3 separate regions of the Homo sapiens genome follow, and all the other regions are linked to region 2. Evidence: promoter capture Hi-C in 16 types of primary human blood cells and fetal thymus (Javierre and others, 2016). All regions are on one chromosome and are shown on one strand. Each heading gives the region's core, a stretch centred on a gene start or on the middle of the fragment in contact. The rest is flanking DNA. Distances are from core to core; before and after follow the strand shown. Region 1 overlaps RABL6 (RAB, member RAS oncogene family like 6). Region 2 holds the start of MAN1B1 (mannosidase alpha class 1B member 1). Region 3 overlaps LCN8 (lipocalin 8).

Region 1 (2,727 bases), core at 48-2,547, 280 kb after region 2:
CTAAGTCCCATTTCTAAATTCGCACCAGTGTCTACTCAGAGAGGACTCTGGTTGTCCGAGCTCCTGGGCCAGGCCAGTATCAGAGCTGCACAATAATGCTCACTCAGGAGCAACTCCACAGAAAAATTCTGCACCAAATACAACTGATATTTTGTGTCCAGTCACAGTAGAAAGGGACAGACCAACTCAGGCAACAATCTTTCTTCCAAATAATTTCAAATAATTTTCCTAATAATTTTATATGCAAATAATTTCAAAATTGTGTAAACCAAAATTAAAATCCCAAGGCCTGCCAACCATCTGAATGGACTTCCTCTTCTAGGCCAGGGCCATCCAAATTTCATCTGAAAGACTGGTTCAGGCCATTATGGGAAGAGGGGAGTCAGACAGGCCTCATTGTGGCCTCCTCCCTTCTGGAATTCAGGAAAAGCTCACCAGCATTTAACATCAACACTGACTTTAAGTCTGATAAGAAACATAATCTGGCCAGGCGCGGTGGCTCACGCCTGTAATCCCAGCACTTTGGGAGGCCAAGGGGTTCGGACTGCTTGAGTAGAGGGGTCTGAGCCCAGCTGGGCAACGTGGTGAAACCCTGTCTCTCTAAAAAATACCAAAATTAGCTGGGTGTGGTGGTGCAATTGTTTTTTTTTTTTTTTTTGAGACAGGGTCTGACTCTGTCACCCAGGCTGGAGTGCAGTGGCACAATCTCAGCTCACTGTAACTTCTGCCACTTGGGCTCAAGCGATTCTCCCGCCTCAGCCTCCTGAGTAGCTGGGATTACAGGCACCCACCATCACACCCGGTTAATTTTTATAGTTTTAGTAGAGACGGGGTTTCGACATGTTGGCCAGGCTGGTCTTGAACTCCTGGCCTCAGGTTGTCCGCCTGCCTCGGCCTCTCAATGTGCTGAGATTACAGGCGTGAGCCACCGCGCCCGGCAAAAAAACACAATTTTTTTAAACTACCTCCGACCTGGAAGCCCCCACTTCAAGTTGTCCCGCCTTTGTGGACCAAATCAACATATATCTTAAATGTATTTGATTACTGTCTCATGTCTAAAATGTATAAAACCAAGCTGTGCCCTCCACCTTGGGCACATGTCCTCAGGGTCACCTGAGGGCTATGTCACGAGCCATGGTCACTCATATTCAGCTCAAAAATAAATCTCTTCAAATATTTGACAGAGTTTGACTTTTTCATCCATTATGGTCCAATGTCTCATTCGAGTTTTTATTCTAAAACCAGTGGGTGTCCCACACGTCTACCGGGACCACTAGCAACTCCGAGCAAATGCAGGGCCCAGGAGGAGAGCCCAGACTCCTGGAAACCCGCAGCAGTTCCCAGAAACTCTCACCCCCAAAACCCTCGACTCTGTCTTGATCACATTGCTGGTCTGTTACGCTCTGTAAAATATTTGAGAAAATAAATACCAGAAAGCCGGGCATGGTGGCTTACGCCTGTAATCCCAGCACTTTGAGAGGCTGAGGCGGGCAGATCACGAGGTCAGGAGATTGAGACCATCCTGGCTAACACGGTGAAATCCTGCCTCTACTAAAAATACAAAAAATTAGCCGGGCGTGGTGGCCGGTGCCTATAGTCCCAGCTACTCGGGAGGCTGAAGCAGGAGAATGGTGTGAACCCGGGAGGAGGAGCTTGCAGTGAGCTGAGATCACGCCACTGCACTCCAGCCTGGGAGACACAGCAAAACGCAAAACTCTGTCTCAAAAAAGAAAAGAAAAGAAAAGAAATACTAGAAACTTTCTATTCTAACACAGAAACTCAAAAGTTTTAAAATTGCATGTTATTCAGCTATAAAGATAACATCTTTCTAAAATGTAATTTAGGTACAAATTCAAATTTCTCTCTGTCTCACCACCTTTCATTCAGTTCTAGGAGATCATAACCTGTTCTCCAAGTACTGGAGACTGGCTTTTCTCCTCTGGAAGGACCCCATTGCCCTTTTTAGTCACACTCGCCCAGGACCACACAGGGGTGGTCCTGGTGCATGAGGTGGACCTTGCCCAGGACCCTCGGGGAGCCTTTTCAGAAGGTGAACAGTTTCCAGGTCCAGGCCTGATTTCCCAGGGACTAATACTGAGCTTAGCCAATACTGTAAGCAATAAAATTAAATAAAGGATCCAAACGCAGAGTCTAAAAACTGGCGTAAACTCAGTTATTTTGACTCAATATTCTCTTCTCCGAATGCCAGCTATGTATAAAGTTTCAATTATAACACATTTAAAATCAGCTTTTATTTTTATTCAAAATGCACCACTTTATTTTCCTTACCAGACAGCCAAGCATTAAGCACGTTCCAGTCACGTGACTTCTTCAGCGAGCCCCCAGGCTTCCACTCCACGGGAGTCTGGGAGCTCCTGGACAGAGGAGTCCTGAGATTTCAAATAGTCAAGCCTTCTCCCCAGCCACAAGTTCCTTTGATGCTTGGGTTACTGAACACAAACGCAATGGATTGTTTGTCTTCAACATAATCCGTTTCTGTTCCTAAACGTGTTGGCTGCGCTTTCTTTCTGATGAGCACGCTGACTCTAATTTGAACTTCATCAAAATCTTCTTTGTCGTCGTATGTTCTAGAGTATAAGAAAAGCCAATACGGCCCTTGGTTCGGACATCAACTTTCTTTTAAATTTTTTTTTCGTATTTTTAGTAGAGACGGTGTTTCACTATGTTGGCCAGGCTGGTCTCGAATTCCTGACCTCGTGATCTGCC
Region 2 (2,919 bases), core at 110-2,609:
AGGTGGTTACATACAGCTCTACCTTTCTCTTTATCTTGATTTCTTGCCAATTCGTTGCCATATATGCCTCCTGGAGCTGTTTAAGGTAGAATGCAAGATTGCTTCTGCCCAATCAACCCTCAACACAGATATCGTTTTCAAGTACACGTGTTTCTGATACCTTTCCAATGGTCAGCCAAGTTGATGTAGAAGAGGAGTCCACAGAAAAGCAGAAAGGCAAGGAGGAAGAGAATCATATTCCGCTGCAATCTCGACAGTTGCTTCCATTTCTAAGGGAGGTACAGAGAATGACATTTCTTACTGAATATATCACACGGAACGTCTCAACTGTCACAAACTGTGAGGACAATAAGGAATTCTTCTGGAAGATCCAGTGTTCAGCTCTATTTCTTTTTTTTTTTGGAAACAGGGTCTCATTCTGTTACACCTAGGCTGGAGTGTAGTGGGTGGAACGCGGGATGAGCCACCGTGCCCGGCCAGCTCTATTTATTTTGAATGGGGAGAAGTTCCCTCTCAGCAGGGAGTAGGAACATTGCTGGGACAATACTACAGATGTCGTTAATACAGTGGTGCAGATGAGACGAGGATAAGAAAAAAGCAGAAACATTTCTGTCACATTTCATCAACAGTGGAGAAAGACTCCTGCGACTCCCACAGATGTAGCCCAGGCACCGCCCAGGCGATGCACAGTCCGCATGTGGTTATCAATGCCCTTCGGCCTGAGACCACCACGAACAGACCAGGAGCCAATCAAGAGGGGCTCATTTCTCACTGTACCGAGGGGAGCATACACCACGGGGAACCTCCGGTTTCCGCTCCAAGAGGGGCAGGCGCCTGGGCCAGGACCTTGCAGAAAAGCGAACGAAGCCCAGAAAACCTGCTGGGGCTCTGAGCCCTCTTCCCACCACCGCCCCGCAGAATTTGGGCCGCTGAGACCGCTGCAGGCGAGCCGCCCACGGCTGCCCCAACCAGGAACGCACATTTGCCCCTTTTTGCGGGGAAGGGGTGGAGAGGGCGGCGCCTGGGGAGTCGAGTCCGCCCGCCCAGGTCCCGCTCGGAGCCGCAGTCTGGGAGGGCGGCGGGCACGGCAGCCCCGGGCCCCAGTCAGCCCGGCGCGACCCTCACCCTCCAGCACGAGCGCCGCCGCCAACTCTTGCTGTTGTCATAGTTCTCGCCAAAGCTCAGCGTCACCGAGATGAAGTCCCGATGAGGCGGCGGCGGCGGCGGTGGGTACATGACTACAGTGGTGGCGACGGCCCAAGGGGCCCCGCCCACTGGCGGCGTCAGGAAGTCCGACTGAGAGGAACCGAGAGCTCCGCTTCTCCTGCCCTCGCAGGCAGCCATCGCAGCGCCGTCAACAGCCCGCCCATCACACGGATACGCGACTGCGCGTGCGCTGCGTCTCTATGCGGCCAGTGCGCCCGCGCCTGTCTCCGCTGCGCTCCAGCGTACGGGGCTGCGTCCTACGGCGACTGCGTCAGACAACTGCTGCGACTCCGCCCTGCCCTCAGGTTCATTGCGCATGCGTCCGGCAGCGCCTGCCCAGGTGTGCTACGAGCGTAGCTGTAGCAACGGGGCGGGCCTTGGTTCGCCTGGGGCGTGGTCGCTGTCTGGGGCTCCCACGTGGTTCGCCTCATGGGCCTGGAGCTGGGCTTCTCTCGCCTCCTGTCGTCTGGCTGCACCGACTTTGCCCACGCCCTCACGGGAGACGCAGACACTAGGGACCCGGGGAGGCGCCCGGGCGGGGCCGCCATGTTGGCAGAGAGTCCCAGCGTCCCGCGCCTCGGTTCCGGAACCCGCGGCGCGGGGATGGAGCTGGGCTGCCCTTGGGCGCCGTCCTGGGCTGGTGCCCACCCTGGCCGCGTGGTCACCGGCAAGAAGCCCAGGGCCTCACCCAGGCGTGGGGGCCGGGGGAAGGACCGGACCCTCCCGAAGTCGCGGACCAGGCCGGGCGGCACCCGGGCTGGGGTGGCTGCTACCCCGAGCTAAGCTGGCTGCGCCGCATCTCACGGTCCCCGGGGCCCGAGCGCTGCGCCTGGACCGGCGCCGAGCGAGGCGGCCAATCGGCCGGCTGGACCCACAGTCCCCGCGCCATAGGCGGGTCGGGGCTTTCAGACCCGGCTCCCAGCCCTCGAACTCGGTAACCTTGGAGGTCAGCTTGAGATGACTGCGCTTCCTGCACGCGTTGTCCTCCCCAGAAACGCCCAAAATGGCAAAGCGGCGTCCGTGGCCGCCCGAGGCCCTCCCTGCCTGGGTTCTCCCCAGCCGAACCTCACGCCCGGCCCCTCCTTCATTCTCTCCTGGCCAGGCTGCTCCTGCCCTTGGGCGAATCCGCTGCGTCCCACGGTCCTGACTGTGGCATTTCTGCGTGTCTGGAGAGCTCCCCCGGCAGCGACGTCCTGCTTAGCACGTGGCTCGTCTAACTCTGTTCCCCTGGCCTCCTGCTCTTCTAGGGGTCATCTTTAGGTTTCTGCTGGTCTCTGCCCCCTGTGACACTTGCTGGTACCCAAATGAAGTCGTTTATGTCACACTCTAACAAGAGGCCCTGAAGAAGCCCTCACAAAAACATTAGCAACGGAGCGCCTGCGGCAAACCCTTCTAACCTTTGGTCTTTATGGTTTCAAAGCAGTTTATGGGAACTTCTCTTTTTTAAAAGATTCCCCTTGGGGCCAGGCGCGGTGGCTTCTGTAATCCCAGGACTTTGGGAGGCCGAGGCAGGTGGATCACTTGAGGTCAGGAGTTCAAGACTAGCCTGGCCAACATGGTGAGACACCCGTCTCTACAAAAAACACAAAAAAATTAGCAGGGCATGGTTGGTGGCAGGCACCTGTAGTCCCAGCTACACGGGAGGCTTAGGCAGGAGAATTCCTTGAACCCAGGAGGTGGAGGTTGCAGTGAGCCGAGATGGCACCACTGCAC
Region 3 (2,728 bases), core at 101-2,600, 330 kb after region 2:
CTGGATCTGCATTTTATCCCAAATATAAGCATAGTGTTTTAATGAAGCCCCGTGAACTTAGAAGGAAGGAAAAGGGGTGTGGGACAGGTGACTGGCTGGAGGGAACAGAATCCCCAGGGGAAGGCCCCACCTGGCACATTCCCCGCCTCATCCTGCTCCAGGCCTGGGATACTCCACAGTGCTGCCTGTGCCCTTCCTAAAGACACAGCCCCACTCCGGGAAGGAGCCCAGCAGGCGGGACACAGGCTAGCATTTTACCGATGGGCACTTTGCTGCCTTTCAGCTCAGGAAGCTGTGAGATAGAGAAGATCGTGGGCTCAGAAATAGACAGTACGGGAAAATTCGCTTTTCCTGGTAAGTGCAGTTGCCCTGTGATGGCAGGTGGAACCCGGCTGTGCACACAGCTAGGCCTTATTGTTCCCCATGCTGTTCCCTGCACTGTTCCCCATGCTGTTCCCTGCACTGTTCTCTGTGCTGTTCCCTGCACTGTTCCCCATGCTGTTCCCTGAACTATTCCCTGTGCTGTTCCCCATGTTGTTCCCTGCACTGCTCCCTGCACTGTTCCACATGCTGTTTCCTGCACTATTCCCCATGCTGTTCCCTGCACTTTTCTCTGCGCCATTCCCCATGCGTTCCCTGCACTGTTCCCTGCACTGTTCCCCATGCTGTTCCCTGCGCTGTTCCCCATGCTGTTCCCTGCACTGTTCCTCATGCTGTTCCCTGCGCTGTTCCACATGCTGTTCCCTGCGCTGTTCCCCATGCTGTTCCCTGCACTGTTCCCCATGCTGTTCCCTGCAATGCTCCCTGCACTGTTCCCCGCACTGCTCCCTGCACTGTTCCCCATGCTGTTTCCTGCACTATTCCCCATGCTGTTCCCTGCACTTTTCTCTGTGCCGTTCCCCATGCATTCCCTGCACTGTTCCCTGCACTGTTCCCCATGCTGTTCCCTGCAATGCTCCCTGCACTGTTCCCCGCACTGCTCCCTGCACTATTCCCCATGCTGTTCCCTGCACTTTTCTCTGTGCCGTTCCCCATGCATTCCCTGCACTGTTCCCTGCACTGTTCCCCATGCTGTTCCCTGCACTGTTCCCCATGCTGTTTCCTGCACCGTTCCCCATGCTGTTCCCTGCAGGGTTCCCTGCACTGTTCCCCATGCTGTTCCCTGCACATTTCATGCCCCAGACCTTCCCATTCTCCCACCAACACACTGGATCATCCTTCAAAAGCTTCTGTAGTGTCTCCAACCACTCAAGTGCTGGGACTGGGTGGGGGCAGGATGGAGTTAGACCCTGCAGACCCTGGCCTTCGAGGTCCGTCCCCCTCAGACGTCTCCCCCAACGCCATGGCCGGCTCTTGAAGGCCACAGAGAGATCCACGTGCTGGACACCGACTACGAGGGCTACGCCATCCTGCGGGTGTCCCTGATGTGGCGGGGCAGGAACTTTCGCGTCCTCAAGTACTTTAGTAAGCTTGGCCCTGGGGGGCTCTGCCCAGCTGCTGCTCTCCCAGGGACTGCCCGCCCAGCCCCCCTGTGCCCCACAGCTCGGAGCCTTGAGGACAAGGACCGGCTGGGGTTCTGGAAGTTTCGGGAGCTGACAGCAGACACTGGTCTCTACCTGGCGGCCCGGCCTGGTGAGCCCAGGGGCCTTGGGGTGGAGGCTGGGCTGGGCCCTGTGGGCTGACTCTGCAGCTCCTCATGCTGGCCTATCCTGCAGGGCGGTGTGCCGAGCTCCTGAAGGAGGTGAGCCTGACCCCCGACCCTGGCCTGTGCTGAAGTTCCCGGGCCCCTGGCCCAGTCCCTGGCCCTGTCAGGAGCCCCCGTGGCTCCGCCTCCCGGCCCTGGGCTGGGCCTTCTCACCCCTTCCTGTGAACAGGACACCAAACACCACTGGTGGGCAGCTCCAGAGATGAGTCTGTCTCCTGGTTTGGAAAGAGCTGGAACCTCCAGGGTGGTGACCCTAGGCTGCCAGGCAGGGACCCTGGGAGGCTGGGGTCACGGGGTGCAGAGCTGGGTGGGGCAGGGGAGCAGAAATGGCGCCTTTTCTTCGGTGTTCTGTGCAGGACTGCCGGCTGCTTCTGCCCCCGAAGGTCCCGTCGGCGGCGGGGCACAGATCCTGCGGGCGCTGCCTCAGGGCTCCCATGTTGGGCACTGCGAGAACCCAGTGTCTCCCTCACCTCGCTTTGTCTTGGCCCTAGAGGCTGGGCCTGTTACCCCATTTTGCAGATTGAGAAGGCGCTCAGGGAGCTGGGTGCTTTGCGCAAAACCAGGCAGCGAGGACAGAAGTCCCGCCGTGTGGCCCTCATCGAAGCCCCGTGGGGCCTCCAGAGACCACACGGGCCTGAGCCCCTGCACTTCTGTGTCGCAGGAGCTGATTTAATGGAGTTCCTGCCTCAGACCACAAGGTTCGGAGCGCCCGCCCACCCCTGCCCCTCCTGGGCACCCTGCCCACCAGGTCACCTGCACCTGCTCTGAATAAACTGTGAAGTCAAGCCACTGCCTGGTGTGTCCTTCCGGAGGGCCGATGGGTGACAGGTGTGGGGGGACTCACCCGCCCCAGGTCTGGCAACAGGAGGTGTGTTTTCCGTGGTTACTGGACAAACAGTGCAGCTCACGTGCAAGGCAGCAACCCCTGCCCTCCCGCCCTGCTAGGGTCGTGGTCAGGCTGCCCCAGGGTATAGACCAGAGACAGAAACAGGGCTCCTGGTGGAGTCTCAGCAGGTCTGTCAA

Evidence for each region. The method cuts DNA at HindIII sites, captures the fragments that hold promoters and counts their contacts. A CHiCAGO score of 5 or more calls a contact.
Region 1: a contact is called between a fragment that was not itself captured here and the fragment with the promoter of MAN1B1 in region 2, in 5 of 17 cell types (naive CD8 T cells, non-activated CD4 T cells, total CD4 T cells and 2 more). The highest score is 7.6, in naive CD8 T cells.
Region 3: a fragment that was not itself captured here is called in contact with the fragment with the promoter of MAN1B1 in region 2 in 1 of 17 cell types (activated CD4 T cells); the score reaches 6.6 in activated CD4 T cells.

Annotation. Positions count from the first base shown.
Region 1 is chr9:136,809,549-136,812,275 of GRCh38, reverse strand. The region is part of intron 1 of RABL6 (RAB, member RAS oncogene family like 6); the gene reads right to left. It also overlaps the pseudogene LOC100422233. Among named protein-coding and RNA genes, the nearest start is that of CCDC183-AS1, 2.1 kb to the right of the region's middle. The HindIII fragment of the contact is 3,825 bases long and covers 1-2,727 here.
Region 2 is chr9:137,085,425-137,088,343 of GRCh38, reverse strand. MAN1B1 (mannosidase alpha class 1B member 1) reads right to left here and starts at 1,359. Exons shown (of 13, transcript NM_016219.5): 1 at 1,126-1,359; 2 at 161-269. The coding sequence starts at 1,344. It overlaps MAN1B1-DT (MAN1B1 divergent transcript), which reads left to right and starts at 1,527. Exons shown (of 1, transcript NR_027447.1): 1 at 1,527-2,919. RefSeq lists silencers at 996-1,225, 1,776-2,005 and an enhancer at 1,206-1,435. The HindIII fragment of the contact is 12,458 bases long and covers 1-2,919 here.
Region 3 is chr9:136,754,148-136,756,875 of GRCh38, reverse strand. It overlaps LCN8 (lipocalin 8), which reads left to right. Exons shown (of 7, transcript NM_178469.4): 3 at 284-354; 4 at 1,360-1,464; 5 at 1,543-1,632; 6 at 1,716-1,741; 7 at 2,367-2,490. The coding sequence ends at 2,378. Among named protein-coding and RNA genes, the nearest start is that of LCN8, 2.7 kb to the left of the region's middle. The HindIII fragment of the contact is 243 bases long and covers 1,229-1,471 here.